Linked DNA regions of Homo sapiens: region 2 is linked to region 1. The links are contacts of gene promoters, found by promoter capture Hi-C in human tissues and cell types (Jung and others, 2019). All regions are on one chromosome and are shown on one strand. Each heading gives the region's core, a stretch centred on a gene start or on the middle of the fragment in contact. The rest is flanking DNA. Distances are from core to core; before and after follow the strand shown.

Region 1 (5,062 bases), core at 944-3,443:
ATTCAAACTCAGGTCTGAGTCCAGTACCTGAATGCCTAATAGCTAAGCCAGTGTTCCTAATCTTTTCCCCTTCTTTTCTTCCTCATTATAACCTCTTCACCACTACCAGGAGACTTATTAGACACCCCCTTCCTCCCTCACCCATCACCCTTTCTTCCCTATGCCCCATAAAATGTTAATACCAGAGATATACTGTAGGTCTGTTTATGTAATGTAGTCCTTGGGGAGCCACAACCATTGTAATAGCTAAGATACTGCCCCTCAACCAATTTTGTTCCCTTGAGGGTGGTATTACCCTGGCTGAAAAAGCATGCTCTAAGCCACACAGCTTCTCCCCTTCCTCATTCATTCATTCAACAGACAATAACAGGTCCTCTATTATGGTCAAAGCACTAAGCTAGATGCTATGAAGGCAATAAAGACAAAAAGCCTGGTCTCTACCTGCCCCTAAGAAGCCTATTGTCTTGTATAACCATCTGGATGCCTGTGGTGCTAAGATGCTGCCTCACACCCACATTTCTGTATCCCTCACACTTCTGTATCCCTCGATAGAGACAATCAGTGCACTGTAACAAATACCCTGCAAGCTAACAAGCATGTCGTTTCCAAACAAGATCTTCCTCTGGACTAAGACAGCAGGGGCCTCTTTGGCTAGGTTCAGCTCTAAAGAGACAAACCTGTTAGTCTCCCACAGGTACGTTTACTAATAACATCATAGTCATGAAACATACCCTTCATTCATTCTTTCCTTTAGACATTAATTGTCTATTAGGTATTAGGCCCATGCTAAGTCTTGGAGGTATAAAGATGAGTTTCAGACTGCCTTAAGAAGTTGAGTTTTCATTTATAGCGTTTTCCATTACCTTATGCCACACTTATCTCTGTCACCATGCTTATCCTTATAAATGTTAAGGGAATAAATAGTTCTCAATGGGGTACTCCCTGGGTATGTGCTGGGGGGAGGAGAGTTCAGCAATGTTTGGAGACATTTTTGGTTGCTGGGTGCTACTGGTATCCAGTAGGTAAAGGATCAGGGATGTTGCCAAATATCCTACTACACACAAGACAATCCTTCCCACAACAAAGACTCATCTTTGTTGATTCTGGCTCTGAAACCCAGCTTTTAAAAACTGTAACGATTTTGTTACATATCTACATCTGCAACTCAAGGGCAGGTTTTCCATCTTGTATCTTTGCAGTTCCGATGGCTAGCACTGGATACTCAATGTAGTGTGTTGGGTTAAGAACACTGGCAATAGAAACTTTCACTCTGAAAGAAACACTTAAGCCAACTATATATTCCTCATTCCCATTCCCTTCCCAGTCTTTTCATGTCACTGGGCCGATTCTCCATACAGCCACAAGAACTCCCTGAAAAACTCTAATCGTGTTACTCCTCCTTTTTTTCCTACTGCACGTAGAATAAAATCCAAGCTCTACACTATTCCTACTGCACTTAGAATAAAATCCAAGCTTACAGGCCTTGCACGATACAGTACGTGTCCAACCCCAATCTTATCAGATGCCATTCTTTTCTTGGTTTACATGCGAGTCATCCTAATGTCCTTCCAACTCCTTACACACAGCAAGCCTTCCCTGCCTACTGATCTTGGCACTTGGTTTCCCTTGTCAGGCCTGCTCGCTAAGCACTCCCATGCCCCAGAACCCATCCAAGACGTTCTGATCTTTCCCATTTCAGCCGAAATGTTATGCCTCGAAGAGAACTTCCAAGACAACACTAACCAACTAATGTAACGGTGCAGTAACGGTGAGCTCTACGTAATGTTTATCACCCTTTCGGTAAATAGTGGTCCCACGGCTCGGCCTGCTTTTGGAATGAAGCTACGCTTGGTAAGTTCAACTCTCTTTCACAGCCCTCTCCACAGAAAGAACTCTGGAGTTCGTTCTCGGATTTCACTAAACGAATACTGCCATCCTTGTCCATTCTCGGACCCCTTCTCGCAGCTGATTACGGTCACGTCGATCCCGTCTTTCCAGTCTCCACGAGACGGAGCCCGGGAAAAGAGTCGACCCCATGCTCTGCCGCCCCCGCACCCCACCCCTCGGGAATCCCCACCGTCTTTCCCAATCACCTTCTTCTTCTCAAGGCCTCCCATCGCTCCACGTTGAGGAGCCGACTAGGGCCGCGCGTACAGGGAGCTCCACTTCCTCCCGCACGTGCCCTGCCAAGGACCCCGAGGACCCTCCCCACCCCACGCTGTCTGTTTGTGCGGGCTGCCCAATGAGATGCCTGTACAAGTCCAGGGAAAGATGGGGATTTCCTCCTCAAGATTTAAAACTATAGTCTGAAAAAAATCACTGAGAACACTCTTTCCAGATCTTTCCCGCTCACAATGGTTACAAACACTTTAAGTGTTAAAACAAACGTGGATATACAGGCTTTTCTGTAATCACCCTGATGACGATTCATTGACTGTGAGCCTCGTTGCATGTTGGGACGGAGAGGGGCGGAAGGCTTAGGGACAGCGCGGTGCCTTCTGGGATGCAGAGGGGCGCCGCACTCCATGGTGCGCGATAGGATTGCGTTGTCAAGGTAACGGTTGCTAAGCGTCGTCAGACTTCGGCTGCCGCTGCTGAGAAGCGGTTCCCGAGGGGCAGGGTGAGACTGCGCTGAGTTCCCACCGGCTTCGGGTTCTCTTTGGTTCATTCGCGGTTATGCGGCTAAAATAGAAAAAAGGAAGACATTTTTCCTCGCGGAGGTATAGAGATCCTAGAGGCCACTTATATTTTCTGAGCCTTAGTGGTGGACTCGTGGTATATTTAAAATGTACATTCAAGGCTGGGAGCGGTGGCGCACGCCTGTAATCCCAGCACTTTGGGAGGCCAAGACAGGCGGATCATCTGAGGTCAGGAGTTCGAGACCAGTGTGACCAATATAGTGAAACCCCGTCTCTGCTAAAAATACAAAAATTAGCTGGCCATGGTGGCACACGCCTGTAATCCCAGCTACTCGGGAGGCTGACGCAGGAGAATCGCTTGAACCTGGGAGGCAGAGGTTGCAGTGAGCCGAGATCTTGCCACTGCACTCCAGCCTGGGCGACAGAGTGAGACTCCATCTCAAAAATAAATAAATAAATAAAATTAAATGTACATTCAACATATTCGAGCTTTTAATTTGTACACATAAATTCTGTAAGTGTTCCTCAAATAATAATTCCAAGATTTATACAAATAGTCACATCACCTTGAGATGGTGCAGTCTGGAAGTAGATGCAATTTTAAGAGGTTTTTTTTTTTTTAAACGTTTCTCCCTTTTTCCAAATTCCAAATTTCGTTCGAAGATGATCTCAAAAGTTTAAATTTGAGGCTCTTGTGAATGTGACCTGGCCCAAGGACTTGGTCTTAGAACTTACACAGAGACAGACGTTAAGCACTGGTGAATACTTGTTTTGAACTATGTGACTTGCACTATCTAATTTAAAGCTAAAATTTAAAACCCAGCAATTCCACAGTTAAAAATGAGATGAAGCCGGGCACGGTCGCTCACACCTGTAATCCCAGCACTTTGAGAGGCTGAGGCAGGCGGATCACCTGAGATCAGGAGTTTGAGACCAGCCTGGCCAACATGGCGAAAACCCATCTCTACCAAAAATACAAAAATTAGCCGGGTGTGGTGGCAGGCACCTGTAACCCCAGCTAGTTGGGAGGCTGAGGCAGGAGAATTTATTGAACCCAGGAGGTAGATGTTGCAGTGAGCCAAGATTGTGCCACTGCACTCTGCACTCAAGCCTAGACGACAGAGCGAGGCTCCATCTCAAAAAAAAAAAGAAGAAGAAGGAAAGGGATGGACTGGAGAGGGTGGCAGTGGCTGGCTCATGAGGGCAACACAGGAACAGGGCTGGTGTCGTGAGCATGTGGCCTGGGCAGTCATCTCACCCTGTCCCTCACAAATCACCTAGCTCGTCCTGCACAGATAGAACCATGTTTGCAGAAAGTTGAGCCTTGTTTTGCTCACATTAATGTTGAGGGGTCACTGGAAGACACAGGTGGGGATGTTCAGGGAAGCAATTGTAATTTCAGCTCAAAATAGCCGTCATATAGGTACCACATTTCACAAGGGAGGAAACTAAGTCTCAGGAAAGTAAGTGATCGCTGAAGATCACTCAGCTGCTAAGCTGTGCAGAATAGATTCTCACCAAGCAGTCTGGTTTCAGAGTCCTCTGCTAAACTCACATTCCACTACCTAACGTATAGTAGAAAGAATGTTATGTGACTCCAGGATAATGCCAGGTAGATTTTTGTTCCATAAAGGGAAGAGGTTTTTAACCATTAGGGCTGCCCACACACAGAATGCTTTGTGCAATACCAAGCCTCCATCAGCATTACGGTGAAAAGCCCAGTCTCTGCAGGGAGACACACCTGGTTTACCTCTAAGCCTCGGACAAGCCACTTTACCTCAGGGTACCTCTCTTCCTCATTTGTAAGATGGGGTCAACACTAACTGCATAAAGTAGTTGTTGCTTTAAGTATGTTTACATTGTTTCATTTAAAACAAAAATTTGCTGGGCATGGTGACACACGCCTGTAATCCCAGCACTTTGGGAGGCCAAGGTGGGTGGATCACCTGAGGTCAGGAGTTCAAGACCAGCCTGGCAAATATGGTGAAACCCCATCTCTACTAAAAATACAAAAATTGTCTGGGCGTGGTGATGCACACCTGTAATCCCAGCTACCAGCGAGGCCAAGGCAGAAAAATCACCTGAACCTGGGAGGCAGAGGTTGCAATGAGCCAAAATTGTGCCATTGCACTGCAGCCTGTGCAACAGAGAGACTCTGTTTCAGAAAAAAAAAATTAGCTTGGCACGGTGCCTCACACCTGTAATCCTAGCCTTTTGGGAGGCAAAGGTGGGAGGATTGCTTGAGCTCAGGAGTTCTAGACCAGCCTGGGCAACATAGTGATACCTTGTCTCTACTAAACTGTGCCCCGCCTTAAAAAAAAAAAAAAAACACAGCCAGGCATAGGGCCAGGTTCCTGTAGTCCCAGCTACTCAGAAGCTGAGTGGGGAGGATCACTTGAGCCCAGGAGTTTGAAAGCAGCCTG
Region 2 (4,663 bases), core at 1,974-4,473, 1.0 Mb before region 1:
GCAGGAGAACTACTAGCTAAAAAGTCAAGTAAAAACACTACAGCCTGGGCCTAGGCTGTAGGGTTGAAAGCAAGACATAATTTAACAGGAATAAATACAAGGGTCTGCACTTAAGTTCAAGACATTAGCCGCGTAAGAACAGAATGAGGAAGATCCAGCATGGGAGAACTGGATGGAAAAAGATCTAGAGGCTTAAACCGTTGCATGCATAGTGATTTATATGTATAAAAGAAAAGAAATTCTGCCAGGCGCGGTGGCTCACCCCTGTAATCCCAGCACCTTGGGAGGCCAAGGCAGGTGGATTACCTGAGGTCAGGAGTTCGAGACCAGCCTGATCAACAAGGTGAAACCCCGTCTCTACTAAAAATTAGCTGGGCGTGGTGACGCATGCCTGTAATCCCAGCTACTTAGGAGGCTGAGGCAGGAGAATCGCTCGAACCCAGGAGGCAGAGGTTGCGGTGAGCCAGGATTGCGCCATTGCACTCCAGCCTGGGAGACAGAGCGAGACTCCATCTCAAAAAAATCCAACCCTCTTTGCTGTATTAACATAGTTGACTGCTCAGGTTATGGTCAGATGACAGTAATGATAACGGCAGCTATCATATATTAATAAGCACCCACTATATGTCATCCTCACCTCATTTAAGCCTCACAACAACTCTAAGAGGTGGGGAGTTTTAATCTCCATTTTTTGACTGAGATGGAGGCTTCTATCAGTAAGCAGCTTGCCCAAGGTCCACAGCTAGGGAGTGGCCAAGCTGGGATTTGAACCCAGGCTGTGTAACTTCAAGGCCTATGCTCCTTCCATGTGGCCGTCTGCCTCCCAACAGGCGCAAGTTCCACTGTATTCTGGGTTTGTCAGTTTCCATTTGGGTGATGATTACAGACCAGTGCATCACATTATTTTGTTTTTGATACCTTTTTAATTTGGAAATAGTTTAAGACTCCAAGAAGTTTCAAAAATAATACTTAGAATGTATTTCCTCCATGTACCCTTCACCCAATGATACTATCTTATCTAACCACATTATACATTGTCAAAACCAGGAACTGACACTGGTACAATATTATTAACTCAAGTACAGACCTGATGCAGATTTCACCTCTATTCATATTTAACTATTGTTATGTGACGATTTTGTGGAACAGATAAAGATGCCTCTCAAAAATCAGCATCAGGGCTGGGCACAGTGGCTCATGCCTGTAATTCTAGCACTTTGGGAGGTCGAAATGGGTGCATCATCTGAAGTCAGGAGTTTGAGACCAGCCTGGCCAACATGGTGAAACCCTGTCTTTACTAAAAATACGAAAATTAGCTGGGTGTGGTGGCTCATGCATGCAATCGCTTGAACCCAGGAGGCAGAGGTTGCAATGAGCCAAGATCACGCCACCACACTCCAGCCTGGGCAACAGAGCGAGACTTTATCTTTAAAAAAAAAAGAAAAGAAAAGAAAAGAAAAAAATCAGCATCAGGCCAGGCTTGGTGGCTTACACCTTTAATCTTACCCTTTTGGGAGGCCAAGGCAGGTGGATCATTTGCAACCAGGAGTTTGAGACTAGCCCAGCATGGCAAAACCCTATCACTACTAAAAATACAAAAAATTAGCCAGGCATGGTGGTGCATGCCAATAGTCCCAGCTACTCAGGAGGCTGAAATGGGAGGATCATCTGAGCCAAGTCAAGTCAAGGCTGCAGTGAGCCAGGATTGTGCCACCACACCAGCCTGGGTGACAGGAGTGAGACCCTGTCTCAAAAAAAAAAAAAAAAAAAGACAAAAAACAAAACAATCAATCAGTATCATGATTATTAAAAATATTCCGGACCCACCGGGTGTGGTGGCTCACGCCTGTAATCCCAGCACTTTGGGAGGCTGAGGCAGGCGGATCATAAGATCAGGAGATCGAGACCATCCTGGCTAACACGGTGAAACCCTGTCTCTACTAAAAACACGAAATATTAGCCGGGCGTGGTGGCAAGCGCCTGTAGTCCCAGCTACTCGGGAGGCTGAGGCAGGAGAATGGCGTGAACCCGGGAGGCGGAGCTTGCAGTGAGCCGAGATCACGCCACTGCACTCCAGCCTGGGCGACAGAGCAAGACTCCATCTCCAAAAAAAAAAAAAAAAAAAAAAAAAAAAAAAAATATATATATATATATATATATATATATATCCTGGACCCAATGTCTAATAGGGCCCCTGCATATGTCAAGTTTGTTACAGATAAAAGCTGCTTTCAGTTTGCATAAACAGGTCTGATCAAGTGAGAACACTTCCCCTTCTCTTCCCGTTTACTCCTTCCTCCTTCTCATCTCTCAGCTTGGTTTTGAGGAAGGACACTGACAAACTGTAGTTTCTTCACCTGAAGGCAGCTAAGCAGCAAGAAATTCAGGTTCCAAAGAATAAAATCCATTTGCAGAAATGAACTGCTGGGACTACAGAAAGGAAAACTGGGCCAAAAGGTTAAAAGAATGTGACTGGAAGTGAGTTGCTCCCATACAACATGCCCAGAAATCAAACTGGTAATGTAAAGACCCCTGATAGGGAGAGAGACCTGCTTTTTACCAAGTGCAGAGCTCAAAACTCAAAAAGGTCAGAGAGACTTCTGAGGTTCTTTATGCAGCCTGAAATCACGGCTTGCAATTCTCCCACATTCACCCTTGCAATTTGCCCTTCTCCCAGATCCTACAGTTTTCTAAGCTCATCAGATTTCTTTTTAAAGAGAGACTTAGGCTGGGAGCGGTGGCTCACGCCTGTAATCCCAGCACTTTGGGAGGCCGAGGCGGGAGGACCACCTGAGGTCAGGAGTTCGAGAACAGCCTGGCCAACATGGCAAAACCCCGTCTCTACTAAAAATACAAAAATTAGCTGGATGTGGAGGTGGGCGCCTGCAATCCCAGCTACTCAGAAGGCTGAGGCAGGAGAATTGCTTGAACCCGGGAGGTGGAGGTTGCAGTGAGCTGAGATTGCGCCACTGCACTCCAGCCTGGGTGACAGGGCAAGACTCCGTCTCAAAAAAAAAAAAGAAACAGACTTACAGTGAGCTACATGGGAAAAAGCAGTTACCGAAAGACCACATGTGCCAAAGCCCTGTCCTCCCAAACTCACTTAAACTCCAAACATTTGGTGATCTCCTTCTGTAGGTGCATCACCTCATACAACAGGTTCTGGAGCTGCAGATGATAGGCATCTACTTTCTGCTTAGCCTGAAAGGAAAATACGATCAGAAGTGAGCAGGGCAAGTCAGGATGGAGCAGAGGAGAGGGTCAGCAAACTAAGAGAAGGTGTAAAGGGAATAAAGAAGGGGATGGGGCTGGGTGCAGTGGCTCACGCCTGTAATCCCAGCACTTTGGGAGGCCGAGGCGAGTGGATCACCTGAGCTCAGGAGTTCAAGACAAGCCTGGCCAACAAGGTGAAACCCCATCTCTACTAAAAAATACAAAAATTAGCCAGGCATGGTGGTGGGAGGTGCCTGTAATCCCAGCTACTTAGGAGGCTGAGGCAGGAGAATCGCTTGAAGCTGGGAGGCAGAGGATGTGGTGAGCTGAGATCGTGCCACTGCACTCTAGCCTGGGGGACAGAACGAGACTCTGTCTCAAAAAAAAAAAAAAAAAAAAAAAAAGAAGGGGATGGGGAGGAGGAAGGAGGAAGGTTAAAATTAAACCTTTTAACTACTACCTCGTGGGTCTGATCTCTTCCTTTCTTCAACCTGATGTGGGCTAATCGGTTAAGCTTCTTTAGAGTCATGAAATGCACACAGCTCTGGATCCTCCGTTCTTCTATTTCTATTGCCTGTGGGCAAAGAAAACAGTAAAGCCCACTGACGACAGGGCTAGCTCAGCTTCCTTCAGTCCTTCACCACTGACCCATCCTCATCTGGGGCCAAAAACGGCACCGGAGGGAGCTCAGAACCATGAGAAGGGTCATGAAGAAAATAAGAGGATGATTGTATAAGGAAAATGATTAAGAATCTCGGGCAAAAAAAAGTAATTTCTGCTTGGACTAGAGTAACAGGAATTGAAGATGGAATAAGGGCAGCAAAGGCACAATCTATCTCTACAGATCCTACACAGAGATCCCAGCAATAGTAACATCTTGTCATAAAATTTGACCTCTATAAATAACATTACAGGATAACTTAAATGGAAAATAACAGAATTATAGCCATAAAGCTTGGCTAGAATAGATTGAATGCAATAATTCTAACAAAACTTGTCAGCATAAGCACAAATACGTGAGATTCCTGGGGGAAAAAATGGATTTTAAAAAACTTATCTATCGAGTTTTTAGTCACATTGTTTAATTTCTCTGCCCCTAAAACCTCATTTATTCATTTACTATTAATGATAATTTCATTTTTGGTATCTACAATTTACTTGTACACATCCATCTTTGTATCAAGCAAATGTATAAGTACCATCATTTCTCAACACCTAGCAAAATGCCTGGCACTTAATAAATATTAATTGGATGAATGATCAAATTAGTAGGGAAAAAATTAATTATCCTGTACTTTCATTCCTGTAATTGGTGACTGAATGGTGATAAGAAGTTCCAATAAATTCACAGGTTTTGGGAGCCCTCAGGCTCCAATCACCTGATCATGGCTAGGACAGAAGATCAAGATCAGGAAGGGCCCTGGTAGGTGCAAAAACAGCCTCATCTATG

What was found. The method cuts DNA at HindIII sites, captures the fragments that hold promoters and counts their contacts. A contact is called where the count stands out against the background at its distance.
Region 2: a contact is called between a fragment that was not itself captured here and the fragment with the promoter of PES1 in region 1, in 1 of the 25 tissues and cell types used here (liver).

Annotation. Positions count from the first base shown.
Region 1 is chr22:30,589,717-30,594,778 of GRCh38, forward strand. PES1 (pescadillo ribosomal biogenesis factor 1) reads right to left here and starts at 2,194. Exons shown (of 15, transcript NM_014303.4): 1 at 2,094-2,194. The coding sequence starts at 2,117. RefSeq lists enhancers at 2,022-2,737, 2,217-2,516, 2,737-2,816. The HindIII fragment of the contact is 28,649 bases long and covers 1-5,062 here.
Region 2 is chr22:29,539,756-29,544,418 of GRCh38, forward strand. THOC5 (THO complex subunit 5) reads right to left here. Exons shown (of 20, transcript NM_003678.5): 4 at 3,674-3,787; 5 at 3,104-3,201. Among named protein-coding and RNA genes, the nearest start is that of THOC5, 12 kb to the right of the region's middle. The HindIII fragment of the contact is 4,062 bases long and covers 1,193-4,663 here.